Regions from separate parts of the Homo sapiens genome. Here all the other regions are linked to region 5. Evidence: promoter capture Hi-C in 16 types of primary human blood cells and fetal thymus (Javierre and others, 2016). All regions are on one chromosome and are shown on one strand. The core of a region is centred on a gene start or on the middle of the fragment in contact, and the rest is flanking DNA. Distances in the headings are between cores, read along the strand shown.

Region 1 (4,325 bases), core at 1,039-3,538, 720 kb before region 5:
CAGACACCAGGTGCGGAGGGCCTGTATGCGATCACATTCTGCAGGAGCTTCAGGGGCCCTTTGTCCATGCTGGCTTCCTGGGCAGGGCTCTGGCCCCAATTCTTAGAGTCTCCACGTTGGTCTCTGGCATTAGATGTTCAGGCAATTCTAATTTTTAAAGAAAAATTCATTTTGGGTCTCTGTTAGCTCTTTCCCTAATTCTCTGAAATCACTGTGAGAGATGTGATGACCTCACGCCATGGCAAAAAGACCCACTTCCAGGTCATCCTGCCTAGCTATACACCTGTAATCAAGATGCACAGAGAGAAGCATGACTTTAAAGGTGTTCATTTCTGCCTGTGTCACATAATCGTTGTCTAGGGTGATGTGTAGCATCCTGTGGGTCAGGGTGCTGGACCCCCGTTTGTAAGTGAGAGAGCCCACTCATGGTATGATGGTGCAGACTCGCAGAGGTTCAGTCCAGCCATGGCCTGGTGCAGCCCAAAGCACTCATGAGCAATTAATATTGGTTGAGTGCATGACAGTGATTTTGAGACTCAGTGGGAAGAGAAGCAGTAAGAACCAGTTAATTCTCCTGGTCGGGACATGAGGGTATTCACAGAGGAAACACATTGTCCCAGAGCTGCAGCTTCCTGAGGCGTTACCACACGGAGCCTGTTCTACCAAAAAAAAAGCCAATTTGTTTATGTACATTTAGACCTTATTCAAGTGCAAAACTTTTTCTGCATTAGGCAGGAGGGAAATTTTCCAGGAGGCAATGTTCCCTAGAAAGGGAGAAATGAGCGAGAGCCCAGCCGTGGCTGAGTTGAGCTCAGCTGGCTGAGGTTCCCTGTGCCCAAGCTTGTCCATTTACCTGTGCTCAGTGGACAGGAACAGCCTTAGCAGGGTCTCAGGCCAGTGGCTCCTCGTTGCTCCTGGCTGCGGTGTTGCTGGGCTCATTGTCCTTTCCAAGTCCTGTACCTCCCCTCTTGGTCCCCTAAGTTCTGTTTTTCCAAATTCCTTGGAGCCCTTGCTTGATTTTTGAGCCCTGGGGAGATTCATTATTTAGACAGACAGTGATTAGGTAAACTGAAATGTTCAGTGCAGAACAGGACAGCTTTTGGCAGTTCTTTAAAGACTGTTCATTGATTTGTGCATTCAAAAACATTCATTAGGAAACAGGAGGGTGTAAAGGGCAAAGGTGACCTGATACTCCCAGGGTATATGATGCAACATGAGGTGCCCTGGGGTAAGTTCCTGGCATTGTGTCTAATGAACTGCAGGCAGGTCCAGGGACATGCACTGAGAGTGGACGTGGGGTTTGGGCATGTGGGGTGGGAGCTGGAGGTAGAACGTTCTAGGCAGGGACCTAGTGGAGATGGAAAAGTATATCATGCTGATGGCTAAACTTGAGTTCATGTTGGCTCAAGGAGTCCCAGGAGCAAGGGCTGTGTCAGACTGAAAAGCTTCAGTTTTATTCCTTGGCAGTAGATCCCCACCTGAAGCTTGTACAGAAACAGCAGCTTGGATCTGTGTGTTTTCTCTGTAAGCCCTTTCAGGCTGTGTGGGTAGGAGAATAGATGGGAAGGAAGATGGCTGTGGGGGTTTGGAGAGTGAGTGTGTCACTATGCTTGACCTTGTGGTGGGGGCGTCCATGTATTCAGTCCCTTATTCTCACAGTCCCTGTGACTGAGCCCAGCACAGCTGTGAGGAGGTGCGCACGGTCTCGGTGCATAGCAGTTTCCTCATGGGACTCCCAGGGCTGAGCTACTGCTAGTCCAGACTTCCCCAAACCAGTGCCTCGCGTGCTAGGTGTAGCAGGCCTGCACCCTGTGCCTCAGCTTTGTAGATGGGAAAGGGCAGGTGGCTTTTCCATTTGCCCCAGACTCTGTGTACCTCTCAGGGTCAGAGGACCCTGGCTTGGGGAGTCTGTCTGGATAGTTCATGTACACTGTATTTGTTCAGTATGTTTAATAGTTGTGTCAGGCATACAGCTGGGCTTCTGAGTGACAGTATCAAAAGGGCTCTTGATTTTCTCCTAGTGCAGTGATGCTCAAACTAGATTCTGGGAGGCACCTGTGGGAGAGCCTGAGGGGCAGGGTATGAGTCAGCCACCGTCCTCAGCCAGAGGAGCCTTGGCATCACCTTGTTTTAATCTGCAGGTCTCTGTAGGATGTGTGTGTGTGTGTTAACCAAGGTCTAATTGAGCACAGTAAAATGCACCACGGAGAATTTTGGTTGGCCAAAGAGTTCTACATGATAGGGTGGGAAGGTGCGGGGCCTCTCCCATCCTGGGCCTCAGCTGTGGGCCTAGACAGACCCTGGCTAGTTAGGGAACCCCCACGCTGACACCAAATGGCATGTCAGGAACCGAGCCATCCATTGGGAAGTTTGTGGCCCCCTCCTTCTGACCTGTTCCCCACTTAGGCTCACTTTGCTTCCGCCTAGGCTTTGACTTCAAGACTTGCAACGTGCTGGTGGCTTTGGAGCAGCAATCCCCAGATATTGCCCAGTGCGTCCATCTGGACAGAAATGAGGAGGATGTGGGGGCAGGAGATCAGGTAGCTCGGCACTGCATGTGGGAGCTGTGTGTTGAGCTGGCTGGGAAAGTTCATGAGCAGTGGGTTAATCACACTGAGGGGTGGATTCTTGTCCTAGCACGATAGCCAGGAGCGAGTTGGGAACCCCAGCTTCACGGCCGTGCTGTGGATGGCTGTGGTTGCTGACACTGGGTTTGGGCTTGTCTCCCCCTCCTAGAGTGTTGGGGGTCAGGGATGACGTCCTTCCCCTGCACATGCCAGTGGAAAGCTCCATGGAGGAGGCACCCAATCAACGTGGACACACCAGGGAGATTTCAGGCTTGGAGAGAGCTGCGGTCCTCTTGGTCTAGGGTGGGCGCCGCTCAGCCTGCTCTCTCGCCACAGGGTTTGATGTTCGGCTATGCTACCGACGAGACAGAGGAGTGCATGCCCCTCACCATCATCCTTGCTCACAAGCTCAACGCCCGGATGGCAGACCTCAGGCGCTCCGGCCTCCTCCCCTGGCTGCGGCCTGACTCTAAGACTCAGGTGAGCAGCTGAATTACCCCAGGAGAGCCCTAGACAGAAGCTTTAATACCCCCAAATCCTCTTGATTCTTGATTGTGTCATTTTTAAGATCGAAATATTCAATCTGGGCATTCAAAGAATGGTCAGTTTTGAAAAGAACTATTTATGTGAAAAATCTTCAGCTAGAGATGCTTCCCACAACATTTTATTATAAAAAATTTCAAAAATACAGAGAAATGAAAAGAATAGTTCCGTTTTTTTTGTTTGCTCATTAGTAAACATTGACTAATGAGTCCCCAAATCCTGCCACAAACATACTTAACTGGCTTCCATATTTTCAGGCCTCTTTGTCCTGAACAGGCTGTCTGTGCTGTGTCTGTGCTGTGTCTGTGTTGTCTGTCTGTGCTGTGTCTGCGCTGTCTGTGCTGTGTCTGTGCTGTCTGTCTGTGCTGTCTGTCTCATCATGACCCTTTTTCTCATCTTTGTTTCTCATGAAAAGGCTTTACGTCTGTTGTTTCCAGCTCCAAACCCATGGGCCCTGACCTGTCTTCTCCCTGCAGTGTTGAAATCAACCCAAGGCCTATATTTGAAGGCTGAGGTGATTCAAGTGTTAGTGGAGACGCAGGCCTCCTGGCACCTCACCCCTGTATCCCCTCCCTGCTTAACCCCAATGAGCCCTCTCATGATTCCCAAGTTCCCAGCACTTCATACTGCACAACTTCTCTCCCTGTGTCCATGCTCGTGGACCCCATTGTCACCTTCACATACTCCCACCTGTGGGTTTCTCTGATCACCCTCCAAGCAGATGGGCCCTGAGAGCCTGCCGTGTGCAGCACCCTGCCACCTCCCTCCTGCCCTTCCCCCGTCCTGTTCAGCGCCATCTCTCTCCACCTACCCATGTCCCCAGTTTACCCCATCAAGCACCCCTCTCGCTCCAGCTCAGCCTTCCCCAGGGCTGCCATCATCCCAGCCAGGCCAGGATCAGTGGCCTATCCTTCCAAAGGTACTCCCTGCTTGGAAATTCCAGCTAATCCCCTTTAGGCCTCATTTTTAATTCCCTAACATCTATTCAGTGTTTTCTACAACTTTGGGCTTCCTACAAGGGGAAGGGGGAAATCCACTTATTATTCTGGCATTCACAACCTTTTATGGTCTTCCAACTTTACCTGCCTCTGCCTGCCCCACACCATCTTTGCTTAATCGACATCATTTCACTCATTGTCCCCTTGTTTCTTAGGGCTTTGCTTTACCTGAGCTCCCTCTCTGGTCTTCACCTCTCCTTCAGTGGCCAGCAAAGTT
Region 2 (3,966 bases), core at 95-2,594, 570 kb before region 5:
TCATAATCAAAAGTTAAGATATATCATCTAAAATCTGAAAGATTATGCACAAAAATATATGAAATCAGTGTGAAATTACACTAATACATGAATACTTTCCTCCTTTCCTTCTTCTTTTTTTTTTTTTTTTGAAACTGAGTCTTGCTCTGTCACCCAGGCTGGATTGCGGTGGCTTGATCTCGGCTCACTGCAACCTCCGCCTCCCAGGTTCAAGTGATTCTCCTGCCTCAGCCTGCCGAGTAGCTGGGACTACAGGCATGTGCCACCACGCCCGATTAATTTTTTGTATTTTTAATAGAGACAGCATTTCACCATGTTAGCGAGGCTGGTCTTGATCTCCTGAGCTTGTGATCCGCCCGCCTGAGGGGTAGGTGAGGGGAAGAAAGCGGACAGTGAAAAGCAAGGAACCCAGCTAATGGAGTACCCAGACAGCCTCTCTCCTCCGCACAGCTCTCCACCTCCACCCAGTCCCCCATCTCCACCCAACATAGCTCAGTTTCCCAGAGAAGCTCCCTGGAAACCGGGAGGCTGACTTCTTCACTGACTGCAGATCCACCTGAGGCCACCTGGCAGGTGAATCGGTGGCCTTTCTCCTGGGCCCGACTGCCTGGTTCCTTAAGGCTGTGCTGGGCTAGCCTGGGTCACTCATCCTTTGGAGTGTGGCTTCTTATGCAATGTCCTATAAAGCCAGGCCTGAGCCTCCACAGGCCCTCTGAGATGGAGCTGGCCTCCGGGGCTGCCCCACCCAGCAGCTGTGACCTCCCACTCCAGATCCTGGCTCCTTCTCTCTTGCCAGCTCTACTCCGGGCATCGAGCTTCCCTCTCTCTCCTTTTTGGTCTCTCTCAAATCTTTCTCTTTTCTTCAATATCCTCTCTCCCTCCACCCCTTGCCATTTTAATCACTTTTTCTCTTTCCTTCTTCTCTTTTGTCTCTCAAACTCCTTTTTCTTTCTATCTTAGTTCATATCTGTTCAGGGGAAGCCTCTTTCTGTCTCAGCCTCTCCTTTTTCCTTTTCACTGTGTATTCTTCCCTATCTCCTTTATCTCTCCGTTGCTCTACTTCTCTGCCTTTTTCTGAGTCTGTTTCCTCTCAATCTTTCTCTCCATCCCTCCCTCCCTGCATCTGCCTCTCTGTCCATCTCGCTGCTGTGTCCAGCTCTCTCTCCGTCTCTCTCGCTCATTCCTTCCTCGCCATCTGCGGGTCTCCCCGGCTCCAGGTCCCCTGCCGCGCCCTGCGCCCCACTCACCGGCCAAAGAGCCCGCGGCGCGGAGCAGGGCCAGTCCGGTCAGCGCGCAGAGCAGGGGCCGCATGGTGCCGGCCTGGCCGAGCGCAGCGCCGCGTCTGCCCGCAGCCGCCCTTCCCGGATCGCACCCGGCCGGCCCGAGAGGAAATGCACTCAGTTCGAGCCAAAATTCCTGGGCGGCTCCGGACTTTCTGGCTCGAGAGAACCCGCCCCCTCCAGAGGCCCCTCGGCACCCCGTGGGCAGCGCGGAGCCCAGAGACCCCGGGAGCTGAGGCACCGACGTGCCACCTGGGCGCCTCCCGAGGAAGGGGCCGCCCCCCGAGTCCCCGCACCTCCTGGGAGCCCGGGAGGGAAGGCGGGGCGGGGGGCATTGGGTGAGGTCTTGGGCTCAAGGCGACCGAGCCTGGGGTCAGGGGTTTGTTACGAGCCAGTTTCACAGGCGGGCAGACTAAGACTCGGAGGGAAGTGTCTTCCTCGGCATCACTCTCAGCCATAGCACAGGATCTGAACCCCTGTCTCCTGGGAGTTTGGCAGCTTTTCTCTGTCTACCTACGAACAAGAAATTAATTCTAATTACATGGAACAGTGTCTGCCCCTAAGAGGGAGACCCAGAAACTCACTGCTCTGGTAAGGGAGTGATAGAAATATGAAAAGGTAATTTTAAAAAGAAAAGGTAAAATCGTAACTCTCGCAAAGATATGAAATTAGCATATACTAAAGATTTTATTCAATTCATTATTAATGAGGGGATAAGTAAGATGGTACAAGCAGCCCAAAGTTTAGAGCACAGTAGTGGAAACTTCCCCTATGGGACATGCCCATCCAACAAGTGCAACAACAAATTAAGTTTTAGTAAAAACACAAAGCAAAAAAGCTGTAGCTCTAACTTCTCTGCTGCAGAGCCCTGAGTGAGTGTCTCGTCTGGCTGTAAGTGGAACACATTCATCACCAAGCCTGGGAGAATGCCTTTGTCCATCAAGGGTCCCCGTTGGGATTACCTGGAGCTCTTGCAGATCAAGGCTGCCTCTCTGCCTTCTGTGTTCCTGGCTGTGGCTATGCAATTGTCCAAAACAGTTACCACGCTAACCAGTGATCCAGTTCTCACTCCCTCCTCCAGAGCAAGATAGTAGCCTCAGACGGAGAAATTCTGGTTCTGAGCCCGAGAATCTGAGACAGACTCAGATCTAAATCTTTTAAAAGCCTTCAAGGAGATTATGATGCCCACATGAGCTGGCTCAGAAGAAGAATTTATTTCAGGAATGCCAAAAATTTCTCACGCTTGGTGGTAGGACATTCCTTGATAGTTTCGCCAGGTGGGAAAAAAAGTTGTCAAAGAACTGCCCAACTCATAAGGATTCTTGTAGCTTAGAGCCAGTGGGCTACCTTATATTTTGAATTTAAGACTAAGAAAACACACACACACACAAAAACATATACAATACATTATTGTTGCGGTAGAGCATAAAGTAATTAAGTATACAGAGTAAAACATGAAAGTCTTTTCTGTTACGAATTCCCTCCGTCCAATGATTCAGGTCCAGTCCCCTCAACTTGGTAGGCTCTGCCTGTTCCACGTCTATGCATTCCCCATCTACCTAATGTATATTCAGACACAAATGTATATACATGAGATCAAGTCATAGATATTTTGAAGATTTGCTTTCATTCATGTTTATCTCAGTCATAACATTAAATCTTGGCTGGGTGCAGTGGCTCACGCCTGTAATCCCAGCACTTTGGTAGGCCGAGGTGGGTGGATCACCTGAGGCCAGGAGTTTGAGACCAACCTGGCCAACGTGGTGAAACTCCGTCTCTGCTAAAAATACAAAAAATTAGCAGGGCGTGGTGTTGGGCGCCTGTAGTCCCAGCTACTCAGGAGGCTGAGGCAGGAGAATCAGAACCCAGGAGGCGGAAGTGGCAGTGAGCCAAGATTGCACCACTGCACTCCAGCCTGGGCAACAGAGCAAGACTCCATCTTAAAATAAAAGAAAATAATCTTGGAGATCAGTCTATGTGGGTACAGATAAATCCACTTCATTCCTTTTAAGAGTTAAAATATCCCATGAATGGATACAAGGAGCATTATTTATCCAAACAGTCCCCTATTGACAGACATGTAGATTGCTTCCTTTTTCTCTCCAATATAAAATAAGCTTTAATAAACATTCCTTTGCATATATCTTCATGTACGTAGTACATATTCCTGTATGTACATATTTCTGAAAGGCTGGAAGAGGAATCATTGCGTCAAAGGCCTTTTACATTTTGCCAGATAGGCCAAAAACTGTTCCCCAAATTGTTACTAAGCCCACAGGAGGGGCAAGGGGTCTTCCAGCGCTGTTCCAAGGTGCACCTGAGCATGTTAGTCTAGGTAGGAATTGGGCTGCAGGGGGCGCCATTTACATAAAATACTTCTGCGCTGGGCGCGGCGGCTCACGCCTGTAATCCCAGCACTTTGGGAGGCCGAGGCGGGTGGATCACGAGGTCAGGAGATTGAGACCATCCTGGCTAACATGGTGAAACCCCGTCTCTACTAAAAACACAAAAAATTAGCCGGGCGTGGTGGCGGGCGCCTGTAGTCCCAACTACTCGGGAGGCTGAGGCAGGAGAATGGCATGAACCCGGGAGGCGGAGCTTGCCGTGAGCCGAGATTGCGCCACTGCACTCCTGCAGTGTCACCCACTGCACTGGGTGACAGAGTGAGACTCCGTCTCAAAAACAA
Region 3 (3,936 bases), core at 774-3,273, 540 kb before region 5:
CCAAGTGCTCAGCTTTCCCACCGAGCTTCTTTCAGTCATCCTCAGGTGTCCTCTGACGAAGGGTCCTCTGCTTTTACACACTCTATCATTCCTTCACCAGGGTCTTCGTCGCCCCACTGTGAATATATTAATACTGGGGAGCGATTTTGTGCTACAGTCACCTCTGCAATTTACAATAGTTAGGCTGTGAACACATGATACAAATGCAGGCCTTGAAATCTAGGTTTGATTCCTGGTTCCTACCACTCACTAGGTTTTGTTTTTGTTTTTGTTTTTACACTCACTAGCTCTGACTGTAAACAAGGTATTTAATTCATTTGGCCCCAGTTTTCTTTTCTTTTCTTTTTTTTGAGGCAGAGTCTTACTCTGTCACCCAGGCTGGAGTGCAGTGGAGCAATCTTGGCTCACTACAACCTCCACCTCCCAGGTTCAAGCGATTTTCCTGCCTCAGCCTCTCGAGTAGCTGGGGCTGCAGGTGTGCGCCATGATGCCCGGCTAATTTTTGTATTTTTAGTAGAGATGGTCTTGGAGTCCTGACCTCAGATGATCCGCCTGCCTCGGCCTCCCTAAATGTTGGGATTACAGGTGTGAGCCGCCGCATCTGGCCGGCCCCCGTTTTCTAACTGGGAAAAATGGGTTAGCAGCACCTACTTCCTAGGGTTTAAAGTGATAATTAAATGAAAGAATGCAAGCAAGGCTCTAGCATAACACCCAGCACATAGTGAGTTTTTAATTCATGTTGGATCTTCCTGTTATTAACACAGAAGGAATTCTGTGGGACTTCTGCAGATTGAAAGGATATAATGAGATTTCATAAGGCATCCCTTCCTGGTCAAAGTGTGTTTTGCAGCAGGCATGACAGGACGCCAGAACAACACTAGTGACACACTGAAAATTGAAATTTCATAATGTATTTATTTTCAGTTTCCTAGGAAATACTCTGATATGCAGAACGTAAGCCAGCAAGCTCTCTGGCTGTGCAGATGTCAAAGCTTCATAAATGCTGTAACTACGGCCATTCTGTGTACATGTGCAACATATTAGTGCTGCACCTTCAGCCAATGGCAAGAAAACCCCTGGGTCAGCAGAGTGTTTACAATATTTGCACATTGCTATGGATACAGTATCAAAGGCAGACGCCAGTAACATGAACAGGATGTGGGGGTTTAAGGCAGTTAACAATCACAGAAACTACTCTCACTCTTAATACATCATTCTTGGATAATATTTGTAAAATATTTGGGAGGTGAGGCATGCTGTTGAGAACATTACTTTGGATGTTTCACCCGACACCACTGACAGGCAGCTTGGTGAAATATCAAGGTGTCAAGGACCTAGGTCTGTCACCAAATTAGCTAGCTGGGTGTCATTGGTGGTTGCCTTCCTTCATATGACCTAGCTCCCTCCATGGCGGGAGTTGGGGGAGGAGATTTCTGCCATCCCTTCCGGCATTCTGATTACAAGTGGAGCTCAAACATGATTTCATCTCTTATCCTGTGTTGTTTAACACAATTCTGGCTAAGTTGAGCAGCATTTAGAGATTTTTGGAGGCATCCAAGATGAGCTACGCTAAGTGGCCAGCCTGGACTTTGTTTTTCTATTGTAACCCGTCTTGTTCACACACCATGCAGATCCAGTTGGCTCTCACGCTCTCTTGAAGACAGATTTCTCCCCACTCCAAGACAGCAACATGGAATGTGGGCAACTTAGCTCTTGTTGGAAAATTGTCAAGAAGTAAAGGAAAAATAATTTTTTCCAAATAGAAACAATTATACATAGATTCTATTTTTATTCTTATGGTAGTTGCATTGAATTCCTCATTTCATGTTTATTTATTCCAGTTGCTTTCTTACATTTATTAGCATCTATATTGCCCTTAATAATGCAGCCAGTACAGGCCAGGGCGTGGGCGCTCACGCCTATAATCCCAGCAGTTTGGGAGGCCGAGGCGGGCAGATTGCTTGAGGTCAGGAGTTCGAGACAAGCCCGGCCAACGTGGTGAAACCCCATCTCTACTAAAAATACAAAAATTAGCCAGGAGTAGTAATATGTGCCTGTAATCCCAGCTACCCAGGAGGCTGAGGCAGGAGAATTGCTTGAACTCAGGATGCGGAGGCTGCGATGAGCTGAGATTGTGCCACTGCACTCCAGCCTGGGTGATAGAGCAAGACTCTGTCTCAAAAAAAAAAAAAAAAAAAAAAATGCAACTAATTCAGCATTGCTCTCCTGCCCAGTTAATTTATACCCCCCCACTGATCCCACCACACACACACATGCACACATACATGTGCCACTATGGAGGTTATATGGAACAAATATAGTTCTAAACCAGGGTTGTTTTGAAAACATTATTATCTCTCTTTTTATTTTTCTTTGATGACTCTCTCCTCTCTTCTTCCCCTTTGCCTCCTGCAGCATTACCTGGGTTTTTTTTCCTTTCATTTTTTGAGATCTTCTTCCAAAAGTGTTTTTAGTGTGGGTCTGTGTGTGGCAAGTGCTCTGAGCCCTTGAATGCAGGTGATTCTTCCCATCACTCTCTCCCATTTGTATGATAATTTGGCTGAATATAAAATTCTACCTTCAAGACCAGGCGTGGTAACTCACACCTGTAATCCCAGCACTTTGGGAGGCCAAGGCAGGTGGATCACCTGAGGTTGGGAGTTCCAGACCAGCCTGGCCAATATGGTAAAACCCCGTCTCTACTAAAAATACAAAAATTAGCTGGGAATGGTGGCAGGCGCCTATAATCCCACCTATTCAGGAGGCCGAGGAAGGAGAATCACTTGAACCCGGGAGGTGGAGTTTGCAGTAAGCCAGGATTTCGCCACCGCACTCCAGCCTGGGTGACAGAGCGTGACTCTGTCTCAAAAAAATAAAAAATAAAATAAAATAAAATTCTACCCTCAAAATTACTGTCTCCTAATACTTTATAACTACTATGTAGTTACAGTTAACCATTATACTACACTGCCTCCCAGGATCTCATGTAGCTATTTGATGTCTATCTCATTGTCATTCCTTTGGAGGTGATCTGCTCTCTCTTTGGAAGCTTTTAGAACTTTCTCCTTGTCTTTATTACTATTATTATTATTTTGAGAGAGGGTCTCACTCTGTGGCCCAGGCTGGAGTGCAGTGGTGTGTGATCACAGCTCACTGCAGCCTTGACCTCCTGGGCTAAAGTGATCCTCTTGCCTCAGCCTCCCAAGTAGGTAGGACTACAGCCAAGTGCCACCATGACTAGCTAATTTTTTTTTTTTTTTTTTAGATGGAGTCTCACTCTGTCGCCCGGGCTGGAGTGCAGTGGCACGATCTTGGCTTACTGCAACCTCCCCCTCCCAGGATCAAGTGATTCTCCTGCCTCAGCCTCCCGAGTAGCTGGGACCACCGGCGCGTGCCACCATGCCTGGCTAATTTTTTGTATTTTTAGTAGAGATGAAGTTTCACCATTTGGCCAGGATGGTCTCAATCTCCTGACCTCATGATCCACCTGCCTCGGCCTCCCAAAGTGCTGGGATTACAGGCATGAGCCACCGCTCCCAGCCTTATTTTTTTTTGTAGAGATAGATAGTGTCTCAAAATGTTGTTCAGGCTTGTCTTGAATTCCTGGCCTCAAGTGATCCTCCTGCCTTGGCCTCCCAGAGTGTTGGTATTAGAGGCATAAACCACTGTGCCCAGTCTCCTCATTATTTTTACTTATTATATTTTTTTTTTACTTATTATTTTTAAATTTTATAGTTGTACCTAGGAATTGATTTTTCCTGATCTCTTATTGTCTCTTTATAAGTCCTTTCAAATAAGGTCATTTTTTGGAAATGTATCTCCATTATTTGTTCAAGTAGTTCCTCCACTTTATTTTTATTTCTTACTCCAGCTGGAACTATTGCTCAGGTGTTTGCACTTTAATGTTTATCATCCACATTTCCAAGCTTTTCTTTT
Region 4 (3,899 bases), core at 991-3,490, 740 kb before region 5:
AGTGGTGTGATCATAGCTTACTGTAACCTTGAACTCTTGGGCTCAAGCAATCCTCCCACCTCAGCCTTCTGAGTAGCTGGTACTACAGTCACAGACCATCACACCTGGCTAATTTTTTTCTTTTTAATTTTTAGTACATATGAGGCCTTGCTCTTTTGCCCTTGCTGGTCTCAAACTCCTGGCCTCAAGTGATCCTCCTGCCTCAGCCTCCCAAAGTGGTGCAATTATAGGCATGAGGCACTGTCTGGCTAAAAATAATACTTCTTTAGAGCTTAATTTCCCTCTTTACTTTGTTATTGTTACAAATTACATCTTTGTACATTATATATTCATTAACATGGATTATTGTTTTATGCATTTGTCTTTTAAATAAAATGAGAAAGAGGGATTACAAATGAACACTGCAGTGACTATATGTTTAAATTTACTTATGTATTTATATATGTACTGTGATCTTTACTTCTTTTTTTTTTTTAATTGAGACAGAGTCTTGCTCTGTCACCCAGGCTGGAATGCAGTGGCGTGATCTCCGTTCACTGCAAGCTCCACCTCCCAGTTCCATGCCATTCTCCTGCCTTAGCCTCCTGAGTAGCTGGGACTACAGGCATCCGCCACCGAGCCCGGCTAATTTTTTTGGATTTTTAGTAGAGACGGGGCTTCATCGTGTTAGCCAGTATGGTCTTGATCTCCCGACCTCGTGATCAGCCCGCCTTGGCCTCCCAAAGTGCCGGGATTACAGGTGTGAGCCACCGCACCCAGCCTCTTTTTTCAAAATTAAAAACCATTTTATTTTTATTTTTTTAAAAAACAAATTAAGTTTACACATAGCTGAATAGAGCATTTCAAAATCTACTGTTTTCTTGATGGATAAAATGCAGACTGTAGACATTCAAACATTCTTGTTATTCTGATACCATGATCTATGTGAAAAAATGTGCTACATTCATTTTTTAAACTGAGGCCAAGCATTTACAGAGTTGAATTCACAATTAGTCTATGTCTTATCAGAGGGAAGTTATTTACACTGTTCTGTGATATTTGTGAAGATTTGTTTATTGCTATTAATAGCAATATTTCTAAAACTGTCTCATACTGTGTTTCTGTCCCATACTTTAATGCGGAACAATGATATTCTGAACAGCGAACTCATACATGACTTAAAACACTGCTGTAAGTCAAACAAAAAGAGCACCTTTATTTAGATTTAAGATTTAGATTTTAGATTTAAACATACATGCACTTTATCATATGTTGTACATGTCAATGCTCTTCATCTTTTGTGGGAGAGTTAATGTGTATAATGCCTACCTAATATAGAAGGGCCTCTCATAGGTTGGAGGTAGCAACAATTGACCACATGCTTTTACAAAAACAGTTGGAATAAAGAAATAAGAGTAATTTGAATTTAATTACATTAATATTTTTTCATGTAATCTCAAATACTGTCATTATAAAAAAGTGTACATTGATGGATAGGTATAATCATATTCAATGTCTTTACTTTTTTCAAACATACAATTACCTAATTATTTTGAGTTTGGATTATTCTCTGTAATAACCACTCTGATTTAGAGTAATGTCTCAAAGTGTTATTACTTTAGTTCTTTCTAGGGCGATTCTTCTGATTTTAATTTAGACTTTAATTTTTATTAAATACATTCCTACATTTATTGAGCCTGTAATTTCTTCCTAGCATAAACTCTGATGTTTTCTAGGGTATATATTTTGGATAAAGGTCTTTTCACATTTATTACATTTGTATGGGTTCTCTGCTATGGGAACTCTCTGTCAAGTAAGATTTATGCAACAGCTAAAGGCTTTGATAACTGCTTTATATGTGTAAAAATGTTTTTTAGCATAAATAATGTGGTGTTTTCTAAGGTATATATCTTGAGCAAATATTTTTTTCAAAATCATTACATGTATTAGATTTCTATCTAGAATTGATTTTCTAATGTTGAGTAAGGTGTGAGCACTAGTTTTGGGCATTGGCACATTCTTTATACTTGTGGGGTTTTTATCTGGGGTGAATTATCTGATACTAAGTAAGGTTTGAGTGCCTGTTAAAGGCCTTGCCACATTCTTTACATTCGAAAAGTTTCTCTCCAGTATGGAGTCTCTAATGTTGAGTAAGTTGTGAGCCCCAGTTTAAAGCTTTTCCACATTCTTTACATTTAAAAAGTCTCTCTCCAGTGTGAATTCTCTGATGTTGTATAAAGTGTGCATATTGGTTAAAGGCTTTGTGCATTCTTTATATTTGAAGGGTTTCTCTCCAGTATGGATTTTCTGATGTTGTCTAAGATGTGAGTCCCAGGTAAAAGCTTTGCCACATTATTTACATCTGAATGATTTCTCTCCAGTGTTGATTAACTTATGTCTATTTAGATGTGATGACTGACTAAAGACTATTATACATTTGTTACATCTTTGTGAGTTCTCTCCAATGTTAATTATTTGATGTTGAGAAAGTTTTAAGGACTGGCTAGAAGTTTTACCATATTCATTACAGTTGTCAGGCTTTTCTGGAATAGGATACTCTGATGAAAAATAAATTTTGAGGATCAATAAAATACTTTCCCACATTCATTACATTTATAATCATTTTCTAGAAAATGAGTACTCTGATGCTTACTAATTTTTGAGTCATGGTTAAAGTTTTTCTGATTTTCATTACAACAGATGGACTTCAAAAATTGATGTTGATATTTACTTACAGAAACATATGCTTCTGTAGAAGTAGCCAACATAAACTGAGCCTTCTTCTGTAATATTCTGTTTTTGATCTCCTTTCACAGTTAAAATTTTGTTATGAGTAGTTGTCTAATATTGGCTATGTACATTATAACGTTCTTTTTGCCCTCTACCTTCACCCACACTTTCACAATTTTTCCATAAGTGTACATTTTTAAGGCCACAGCTCCCATATCTTCCCAGTGTCACTTTTTAGAATGAATCGTCTATGCCTTGCTCAGGTGAAAGGCCTTGGTTGTAATAAGAATACATAGCCAGCCCGGTGCAGTGTCACACACCTGTAATCCCAGCACTTTGGGAGGCCGAGGCGGTGGATCACCTGAGGTCAGGAGTTCGTGACCAACCTGACTAACATGGTGAAGCCCTATCTCTACTAAATACGAAAAAATTAGCCGGGTGTGGTGGCACATGTCTGTAATCCAAGCTACTTGGGGGGCTGATACAGGAGAATTGCTTGTACCTGGGAGGTGAAGGTTGCAGTGAGCTGAGATTGTGCCATTGCGTCCCAGCCTGGGCAACAAGAGCGAAACTGCATCTCAAAAAGAAAAAAAAAAAGAATACATAGCCAGGAAGGCCAGGTTTCTATAGTTCTCTAACATCATATCTCTATACAAATTCCACTGGGGAGGGGCCAGGCATTTGCACTCTTTGGAGAGAATTCTATGGCCACGTCTCTGAATATTGAGTCCCATGTCTCAGAGTCAGGGATGTCCTGGAGTCTTAGCTATAAATCTTCCAATAACAGCAGGTCACAGAATGATGGAGGCTGTGGCAGAATCACCTAGGCCTCCCGAAACAGAGGACACATGGCAGTGAAGACCTAACCCCAAGCTCTGGCTGGAGCAAGAGGTGTGATCGTTTAAAAAATATGGCTTAAGTTATGGTATAGTGTCCTTTCATCCTGATGGCCTCTCTATTAACATGCCTTGTAGTGCATGTCTACTGGTGAAAGACTTTCTCAGTTTTTATTTATCTGGGAATATCTTAATTTTTTCTTTATTTTGGGGGGATCGTTTTGCCAGATACAGAATTCATACTTGACCGTTTCCCGCCCCCCCGGACTTTAAATATTTTATCTTACTGCCTTCTAGCCTGCATGATTTCTGAAGAAAAATTGGCTGTTAATACTTTTGACTGTAATTGTCCTG
Region 5 (4,032 bases), core at 755-3,254:
TCTTTAGATTTGCTGGTGCCATGTGCTGGTAAACTGTACCTGTCTCAACATCAAACTCGGATAGTGTCCCTTGCAGCACGCAGGCGAGTGCATGGTTCCCCCTGGCGGTCGGTGGCAAGCCTCACTCACGAGTCCACATTGCTACAAATCAATCAAAGGGCAACAAAGAGCGTGATGAGGGATGGGATCTTTACAATAGTCCCAAAGTGCGTCCCCACAACATAGTCACTGATTAAAATCAGAAAAAGAATAAATTTGCAGTGGCAAATTGTGACACCCACCACCTTAATTAAATGATCAACACGAACATCATCAGTCTTGGGGCAAACTAAAGTCACATGCTGCCGGGTAGAATGGGAGAAGAGCGCAGCCGGGTGTCGATGGTATTTCTGCCGAAGTTACAGAACCTGAATCTAACTGTAAGGCAATACAAACAAACAAACAAACAAAGTGAGGGGTATTTTACACAGTAACTCCCCTGTGATCTTCACACTGTGTTCAGGTCATGAAGGTGAAGGGAAGACAGAGGGACTTTGTGGGTTTCAGGACCCTGGAGAAGCGTGACAACCGAATAAGGCACATGGCTCAGAAACGGATCCTTTGCTATAAAGGACACTATTGGGGCATTGTGTACATTTTGCATAGGGCCTGAAGGCTATTTGGAGTTATTGTATCCGTGTTTATTTCTTGATTACGGTTATAATGCAAAAATGCCTTTGCGTGAAAAACACATTAAAGTATTGGGGTGTTGGGGTTTCATGTTGACAACCTACTCTCATAGGTTCAGGGGAAAAAAAAGTCGTACGATACTGGCAATTTTTCTGTAATTTTGATGTTGTTTCAGAATAATAAAATGAAAAATGAAACTGACCAAGGCCACCTGGTTAATAAGTGACAGCTCTGGGTCAAAACTCAGGTGTGCCTTTCCCCTAAAGCCATGCCCTGCCCTGCCAACCACAAGGCCCTGCACATCCAAGTTGGCCTCTGTTCCTGCTCATCACCTGCAAAACAGCCCTGCCTCCCCACAGCCAAGTTGCTGGAGCTTCGCCCCACCTGCCCCCAACCTGCACTGGCCTGACTCCCCCATTCCACACCTGGCCCAGCACCCACCACATGGTGTGGCAGACAGCACTGGGGCAGCTGAAAGACTCCATGCTACAAATTGGCACTGCCCAGCTTCCTGCTCCTGGGAGTGGGGTCCGTTGTCTGAGCTTCCGCTCCCTGGAAGAGCTCCAAACTCCTCAATGGTTTGGGATTTTTCAAACCAATTCCAAATAAGCCAGGGGAGATTTTCCTGTCTGGGTTCCCATCATTACCACCTCCACAGTTGGAGATTCCCTCCTAATCCAGATGCTCAAACCAGGACCCTAACAACTAGGGCTTCATATATCACTGGGACACTTAGCATAATCACCATTGCAGGTTGCCAGACATCACCCAAAGTGATGTTCTACCAAAGACAGAAACTGCAGCTCTCCCATGACCTTCCAGGTGCTGCCCTGACTCCTCCAGCTGAACCTGCTAGGGCAGAGGGAAGTGGAACGTGCAGCATATTTGCCTGCCACTCTGTCCATGTGCCCACCAACTCGGCTGCAGGCTCCAGAGACACTGGCTGGGGGTCCTGGGGCTCAGAGCTGAGCAAGGTTACAGGGCAGACAGGTTGGCCTGGATCAACCTGACCAACCTCAGCTGAAGCAGTGACTTCTTCATTGTCTGAAACTAAACCAGGAACCCAGTGGAGCTCCCTGAGTGCAGAGTGGGTGACCTTAGCCAGTGAGGCATTTCTCTTCTTACAGACCTGGTATTTTTCTTTACCAGGTTCTGTGCTCCCCTCAAGGGTCCTAAGTATTCCTGCAGCCTGAGTGTTCTGCAGGGAAATGTGCTGTGTAAACACTATGCCTATTTCCTGCTTGGAGAACAGGTTTTGTGGTAGAGCTCTCAGGGGTGGGGAAGAAGCCTGGCAGCCCACATGCTATAAATTCTGTTGTCCACCTTTATGCTCTAACTTGGAGGCAGAGACCCAAGCAGCTGGAGGCTCTGTGTGTGGGTGAGTTTAGCCACATCCCCTAGGTGTTCTCCAGCTTGAGGATCGCAGGCAGAGAGGACCAGCCCAGCAGCCACAGGCCTGACCAAGGCCCAGGTTGGGAAGGAGGGCAACTCCCCATTTTCCACTGGGAGGTGTTTCACAGCATGGTCAACATGGATGACCTACAAAGACCCTCATGCTTTGATATCTTCCTTGGCCAGATCCATCCCTACCAGGGACTCAGCAGGGCCTAAGCAGGGGGAGTGGGAGAACAGACCCCAAGAGGAAGGAAGACCTCATCACTGACTGTGAGAGGGTCATCACCCCCCGATGATCACCTTGAAGGGTCCAGGCTGTGGGCCCTATTCATCTCTTTTCATTCTCAGGTCGCTGATTTCTTGGAGCCTGAAAAGAAGGTAACTGGGCATATGAGGGACAGATGGAGTGAGTCAGTGAGTGAGTGACCTCATCCTTCCTTCTAACAGCCTGGGAGGGACAGGGCAGGTTTTCTGCAGAGCATGGAAGATTCAGCTGAAATCAGAGAGGTGAAGCCAGTTTCCCAGGGTAACATAGTGAGGCACTGAAAGAAAGGAGACTGCACTGGAGCCCAGGTCCCTGGGCTCCCCAGAGCTCCTTACTCTTCCTCCTCCTCAGCAGTCTTGAGACCCCACAACCTCCAGCCGGAGGCCTGAAGCATGAGGCCATGCCAGGTGCCAGGTGATGCTTGGAATTTTCCCGGGTGCTTCGGGTCTTCCCAGCACTCTGGTCTCGCCCGCCCTGCCTCTCGGGCTCTGCCCAGCTTCCTGAGTCCTGACAGAGCACAGTGGGGGAGATGTTGGCAGAGGTGGCAGATGGGCTCACGGCCATCCCTCCGGCAGGAGCAGCGACTGGACCCAGAGCCATGTGGCTGTGCCCTCTGGCCCTCACCCTCATCTTGATGGCAGCCTCTGGTGCTGCGTGCGAAGTGAAGGACGTTTGTGTTGGAAGCCCTGGTATCCCCGGCACTCCTGGATCCCACGGCCTGCCAGGCAGGGACGGGAGAGATGGTGTCAAAGGAGACCCTGGCCCTCCAGGTACTGTGCTGCAGACCCCACCCTCAGCTGAGGGACACAGACCCCTTTTCAGGAGGCCCATCTGTCCAGGCCCCTAGGCTGTGGGCCATAGTGAGCTGGGGGCTATAGTAAGCTGGGTGGGACTTCAGTCTGCAGGGGTGGTGGGTTCCTGGGGCCCTTATGATGGCGCATCCTGGAGAGTCTGTCCTCATAGTGCCCACGGAGTGATAGCTGAGCCAGCCCCGGTGATAATGGGCATCGAGTCTCACTAGCTCCAACCAGTTGTGGGTGACAGATCCTACACATCCATGTCTCTTTTCTCTGCAGGCCCCATGGGTCCGCCTGGAGAAACACCATGTCCTCCTGGGAATAATGGGCTGCCTGGAGCCCCTGGTGTCCCTGGAGAGCGTGGAGAGAAGGGGGAGGCTGGCGAGAGAGGCCCTCCAGGTGAGCAGGGCGGGGCAGGTGGGCAGTGGAAACATGGGCACAGCGACCTGAAGTCAGTTACACAGGGGTGATGGGGGTCAGACAAACCCTGCAGGTTCCCCAAGGGCATTTGGCTCAACCTAAGTAAGAGAATATGAATTTGAGGGAGAAAGCCGAGGTGTCTGGGGAGTGTGGTCACAATTCAGAGAAGGGCAGGTGTGGGAAGTCCTCCGTGCCTCATGACCGCTGATGGGGACACACTGAGTCAGGTGTGGGACGAGGGACAGCACTGGGAGGCAGGGGAGGCATGTCCTGGGATGGAGGCCCTGGGGGCAGTCTGAAGGGTGAATGCGGACGAGGCATCCAGGCAGATGGTGTGATCAGGAGCCCCACAGACAGAGGGGAACTTTGAAGCTCAGAGCGGTAAGCAAGTCCATCAGGGCAGTGCAGAGAGCATCATGCTTGCCCTTGGTGGAGGGTGCGGGAGAGGGACTTGCCCCACAGAGGCGGGCAGACAGAACCCCTCGA
Region 6 (4,098 bases), core at 607-3,106, 510 kb before region 5:
TGGCTTCCCCAAGTGCTGAGATTACAGGTGTGAGCCACCATACCCAGCCTACCTTACCAAAAGTTTCAAGAACTTCCCCAATTTTAGGCTGCCGTTTTTCAGTATTTCTATTTAGGTATTAAATCTGCAACGAGGGAGATATTGGAGAAATTATTCATGCTACAAGAAATGTTGGAGAGGCAAAATGGCTTCAGTCAACAGACTACAGGGAGCTAGGTTTTAGTTTCATGTCTTCTACAACCCTGCTTGGAGCCCAGCCTGTTACTTAGTGTCCTATGTCTTCCAACTCCACACTATTTTTTTTTTTTTTAATAGAGACGGTGCTTCACTATGTTGCCCAGGCAGATCTCAAACTCCCAGCCTTAAGTAATCCTTCCACCTCAGCCTCCCAAAGTGCTGGGATTATAGTTAGAGGCTGTACCTGGCCACCAACAGCTCAACACTAAACATCTTACTGTTAGCCCCTCACGCACAGATAAGGAATCCAGAAGACAGTACCAGAAGATCTTTGTTCAGATGTGAGTAGTTTATGTAAATTCATGAAGAACTTACAGTCAACTGGATGTTCAGAAGGCATTCCTTTCTTCATTACAGTCACCCTTCACACACGGCAGGGGTGACTGAATTCTCTAAGGTCCAGGCACCCTACACTGCTGTCCCATCTGAATTGGCAGAGAAATATCTCATCCCTGGACATTTTTATCCCCCTGTCTAGATGGATTAGTGACCTAAATATGAAAAATAATGAAGAAAGTCTGGGAGAATAGTTTTACAACTTTTGAGGGAGGGGAAGGAAACCTTTTAGCAAGTTATTAAAATTAAAAGCCATAGAAGGAAAGATTGAAAATTTAACTGCATCCAGATGAAAAGCTTCATTCATATGAATGACACTGTAAATAAAGTTGAAATACCTGGAAGAAGGAATTCTCCAATATATGTAATTGACAAATGATTAAAGGATATGAATTGGGCATCCTCAAAAGAGAAAACTTGAGACCAAGCAAAATGAAAGGATGGTTCAATCTTAATGGCCCTATGGGATACGCAAAATAAAGCAAAAATAACATTGTTTTTCCTCATAAGATTGGCCTACTAGATATCAAGACACACTGTAAAGAGCTATAATAATGTAAAACATTTGGCACTTGACATGCAGAAATCAACAAATGGATCAATGAAAAAATAATGCAGACTCCAGACATGGATCTGGTATATACATATCCAAGCGTTTATTTTATAATAAAGGTAACATTTCAAATTAAGGAAGGAATAATGGATTATTCAGTAAATTATTTTGGGGCAATTAGTTATCTATTCCAGAAAAAATATTTTAAATAATACTGTCCACTCCCAAACACAAATACACAAATGATGCAGTATCAAGAGATACAGAGGTATTAATAAGTAGTCCTCCTTGGGGAGTTATGATGAGGTGGCTATAGGATGGACAAGTGCTGAGATACAGCAAAAAACTCCCACACCTTCCCAGGATTATAGGATGGGGGAAGGGCGACCTAAACAAATTTACAGAAATTTGAATAGAATATTGTGTGTCCAGGGAATTAGGAGAAATTTTTTGTTGCTAGAAAAAAACAATGTGAAGAAATTGAGTGAAGGAAGTTGAGGCTGCAAAGACAGGTGGAGTCCTGATCATGAATGGCATTTGGTATCAAACCGAGGGGTTTTGATTTGATCCCTTAGCCAAGGTGAGTCAGTGAAATTCTGTTTGTTTTATTTAATTAATGTATTTATTATTTGTAGAGACGAGTCTCCCTATGTTGCCCAGCTGGTCTTGAACTCCTGGGCTCAAGTGATCCTCCTGCCTCAGCCTCCCAAACTGCTGGGACTACAGGTCAGGCTTGGGCCACCATGCTGAGCTAATTATTATTATTATTATTATTATTATTATTATTATTATTATTTTTAATAGAGATAGGGTCTCGCTATGTAGCCCAGGCTGGTTTTGAACTCCTGAGCGCAAGCTATCCTCCCACCTTGGCCTCCCAAAATGCTGGGATTACAGGCATGAGCAACCATACCTGCTCTGTTTGTTTTAACTAGTGGAGTGAACATATCTTGTGTACATTGGATGGAGGTAAAATTGGAAGGAAGGAAGGAGGAGAAGAAGAAAAATTATTGAAACAGTATAATGAGAATGGAGAAGGAAAATGCTACATTTTTTAGGTAGGGAAACCAAGGAATCATTCACTCAAATAGTCAAGAAATATTTCTGAAGACCGGCTGGGCGCGGTGGCTCACGCCTGTAATCCCAGGACTTTGGGAGGCTGAGGCGGGCGGATCATGAGGTCAAGAGATGGAGACCATCCTGGCCAATGTGGTGAAACCCCGCCTCTACTAAAAATACAAAAATTAGCTGGGTGTGGTGGCGCGTGCCTGTAGTCCCAGCTACTCAGGAGGCTGAGGCGGGAGAATCACTTGAACCCGGGAGGCACAGGTTGCAGTGAGCCAAGATTGCGTCACTGCACTCCAGCCTGGTGACAAAGCAAGACTCCATCTCAAAAATAATAAAATAAAATAAAATAGTAATAAAATTTAATTTCTGAAGACCAGTGTAGTGTCAGTTATGGTGCTAGGCTCTGGAAATATGAATATAAACCAAAAATAATATTCTAAGGCCCCCCCCTAACTATCTGAATGGACTTTCTTCTCAGCCAGGGCTCTTTTAAAATGTAACCTGAGAGACTGGTTCAGGCCATGACTGAAAGTGGGAGTCAGACATGCCTCATTATACCTTTCTGGCATTGACATCAACATAGACTGTAAGTCTGATAAGAAACATTTTACAACCTGTTCTCTCTGAAGCCTACTACCTGAAAGCTTCCTCTGCAAATAAGAACTTGAGTCTCCACAATCCTTAACCCAGATATTCCTTTCTCTTGATCCCAGGTATTTAGATAAACTCAACCAATTGTCAACCAGGGCTGCGTGTGGTGGTTTATGTCTGTAATCCCAGCAGTTTGAGTGGCCGAGGTGGGCAGATCACTTGAAACCAGGAGTTTGAGGCCAGCCTGGCCAACATGGTGAAACCCCATCTCTACTAAAAATGCAAAAATTAGCCAGGTGTGCTGGTGCATGCCTGTAGTGCCAGCTACTTGGAAGGCTGAGGTGGGAGGATCACTTGAATCTGGGAGGGAGAGGTTGCAGTGAGCTGAGATCATGCCACTGCACTCCAGCCTGGGTGACAGAGTGAGTTCCTGTCTCTAAATAAATAAATCAATAAAAATAAAAAATACAATAACAACTGTCAACCAGGAAATTAAACATCTACCTAGATTTTTTAAAAAAGAATAATCTTCGGCTGGGCACGCTGGCTCACGCCTGTAATGCCAGCACTTTGGGAGGCCGAGGCGGCCAGATCACGAGGTCAGGAGATCAAGACCATCCTGGCTAACGCAGTGAAACTCCGTCTCTACTAAAAATACCAAAATTAGCCGGGCATGGTGGTGGGCGCCTGTAGTCCCAGCTACTTGGGAGGCTGAGGTAGGAGAATGGTGTGAACCCAGGAGGTGGAGCTTGCAGTGAGCCGAGATTGCACCACTGCACTCCAGCCTGGGGGACACAGCAAGACTCTGTCTCAAAAAAAAAAACAAAAAACAAAAAACAAAAAAAAAGAAAACAAATAATCTTCTCTTGTACAATTTTTGATAAATAAGATATGGAATGAGAAACTGAACTGTTGCTTTCGTAGGTAAATGAGAGTCTGAGTTTCCTTAGCTCCAAAGAGAAAGGGCATTTTACTCCTCCCAGCTGAAAGGCACCCCTGGGTGACCAGGGGCCTTGTGGGAGTGTCTGTGAGGTTCACCCACCCATCATGACATGTAGCGCAGCAGCCCTACAGGGAACCCCCAACAAAATTAGTTTTAAAAAGGCTCATCCAGGAAGCACGTATGGGAGCTCCAGGTTTTGAGCCCTCTGAGAGGTGCTAGAGCTTCAGAGAGAGAAATTGAGACACATAAGAGGGCAACGATGACTCAGGGGTGACACCGTGGAGTCCTGCCTGCAACCAGCACACTTCCACCCATTCCACAAAAGCCCTAGGCCACAGCTCAGTTCCTCCTTTAAAAAATACTGGGAAAC

What was found. The method cuts DNA at HindIII sites, captures the fragments that hold promoters and counts their contacts. A CHiCAGO score of 5 or more calls a contact.
Region 1: a contact is called between a fragment that was not itself captured here and the fragment with the promoter of SFTPA2 in region 5, in 2 of 17 cell types (M1 macrophages and M0 macrophages). The highest score is 9.8, in M1 macrophages.
Region 2: a contact is called between the fragment with the promoter of PLAC9 here and the fragment with the promoter of SFTPA2 in region 5, in 15 of 17 cell types (M2 macrophages, M1 macrophages, erythroblasts and 12 more). The highest score is 27.4, in M2 macrophages.
Region 3: a fragment that was not itself captured here is called in contact with the fragment with the promoter of SFTPA2 in region 5 in 2 of 17 cell types (M2 macrophages and endothelial precursors); the score reaches 7.9 in M2 macrophages.
Region 4: a contact is called between a fragment that was not itself captured here and the fragment with the promoter of SFTPA2 in region 5, in 1 of 17 cell types (M1 macrophages). The highest score is 5.5, in M1 macrophages.
Region 6: a contact is called between a fragment that was not itself captured here and the fragment with the promoter of SFTPA2 in region 5, in 3 of 17 cell types (erythroblasts, M2 macrophages and M1 macrophages). The highest score is 6.5, in erythroblasts.

What each region holds. Positions count from the first base shown.
Region 1 is chr10:80,278,895-80,283,219 of GRCh38, reverse strand. MAT1A (methionine adenosyltransferase 1A) reads left to right here. Exons shown (of 9, transcript NM_000429.3): 4 at 2,428-2,540; 5 at 2,904-3,047. Among named protein-coding and RNA genes, the nearest start is that of MAT1A, 8.6 kb to the left of the region's middle. The HindIII fragment of the contact is 1,603 bases long and covers 1,487-3,089 here.
Region 2 is chr10:80,130,108-80,134,073 of GRCh38, reverse strand. PLAC9 (placenta associated 9) reads right to left here and starts at 1,344. Exons shown (of 4, transcript NM_001012973.3): 1 at 1,248-1,344. The coding sequence starts at 1,311. The HindIII fragment of the contact is 6,415 bases long and covers 1-3,399 here.
Region 3 is chr10:80,101,803-80,105,738 of GRCh38, reverse strand. No RefSeq gene overlaps it. Among named protein-coding and RNA genes, the nearest start is that of TMEM254-AS1, 25 kb to the right of the region's middle. The HindIII fragment of the contact is 2,057 bases long and covers 995-3,051 here.
Region 4 is chr10:80,297,288-80,301,186 of GRCh38, reverse strand. It overlaps the pseudogene ZNF519P1. Among named protein-coding and RNA genes, the nearest start is that of MAT1A, 9.6 kb to the right of the region's middle. The HindIII fragment of the contact is 167 bases long and covers 2,157-2,323 here.
Region 5 is chr10:79,558,379-79,562,410 of GRCh38, reverse strand. SFTPA2 (surfactant protein A2) reads left to right here and starts at 2,004. Exons shown (of 6, transcript NM_001098668.4): 1 at 2,004-2,047; 2 at 2,413-2,442; 3 at 2,905-3,099; 4 at 3,406-3,525. The coding sequence starts at 2,928. RefSeq lists an enhancer at 1-323. The HindIII fragment of the contact is 5,002 bases long and covers 1-4,032 here.
Region 6 is chr10:80,071,563-80,075,660 of GRCh38, reverse strand. All of the region lies in intron 1 of TMEM254-AS1 (TMEM254 antisense RNA 1), which reads left to right. Among named protein-coding and RNA genes, the nearest start is that of TMEM254, 5.1 kb to the left of the region's middle. The HindIII fragment of the contact is 1,968 bases long and covers 873-2,840 here.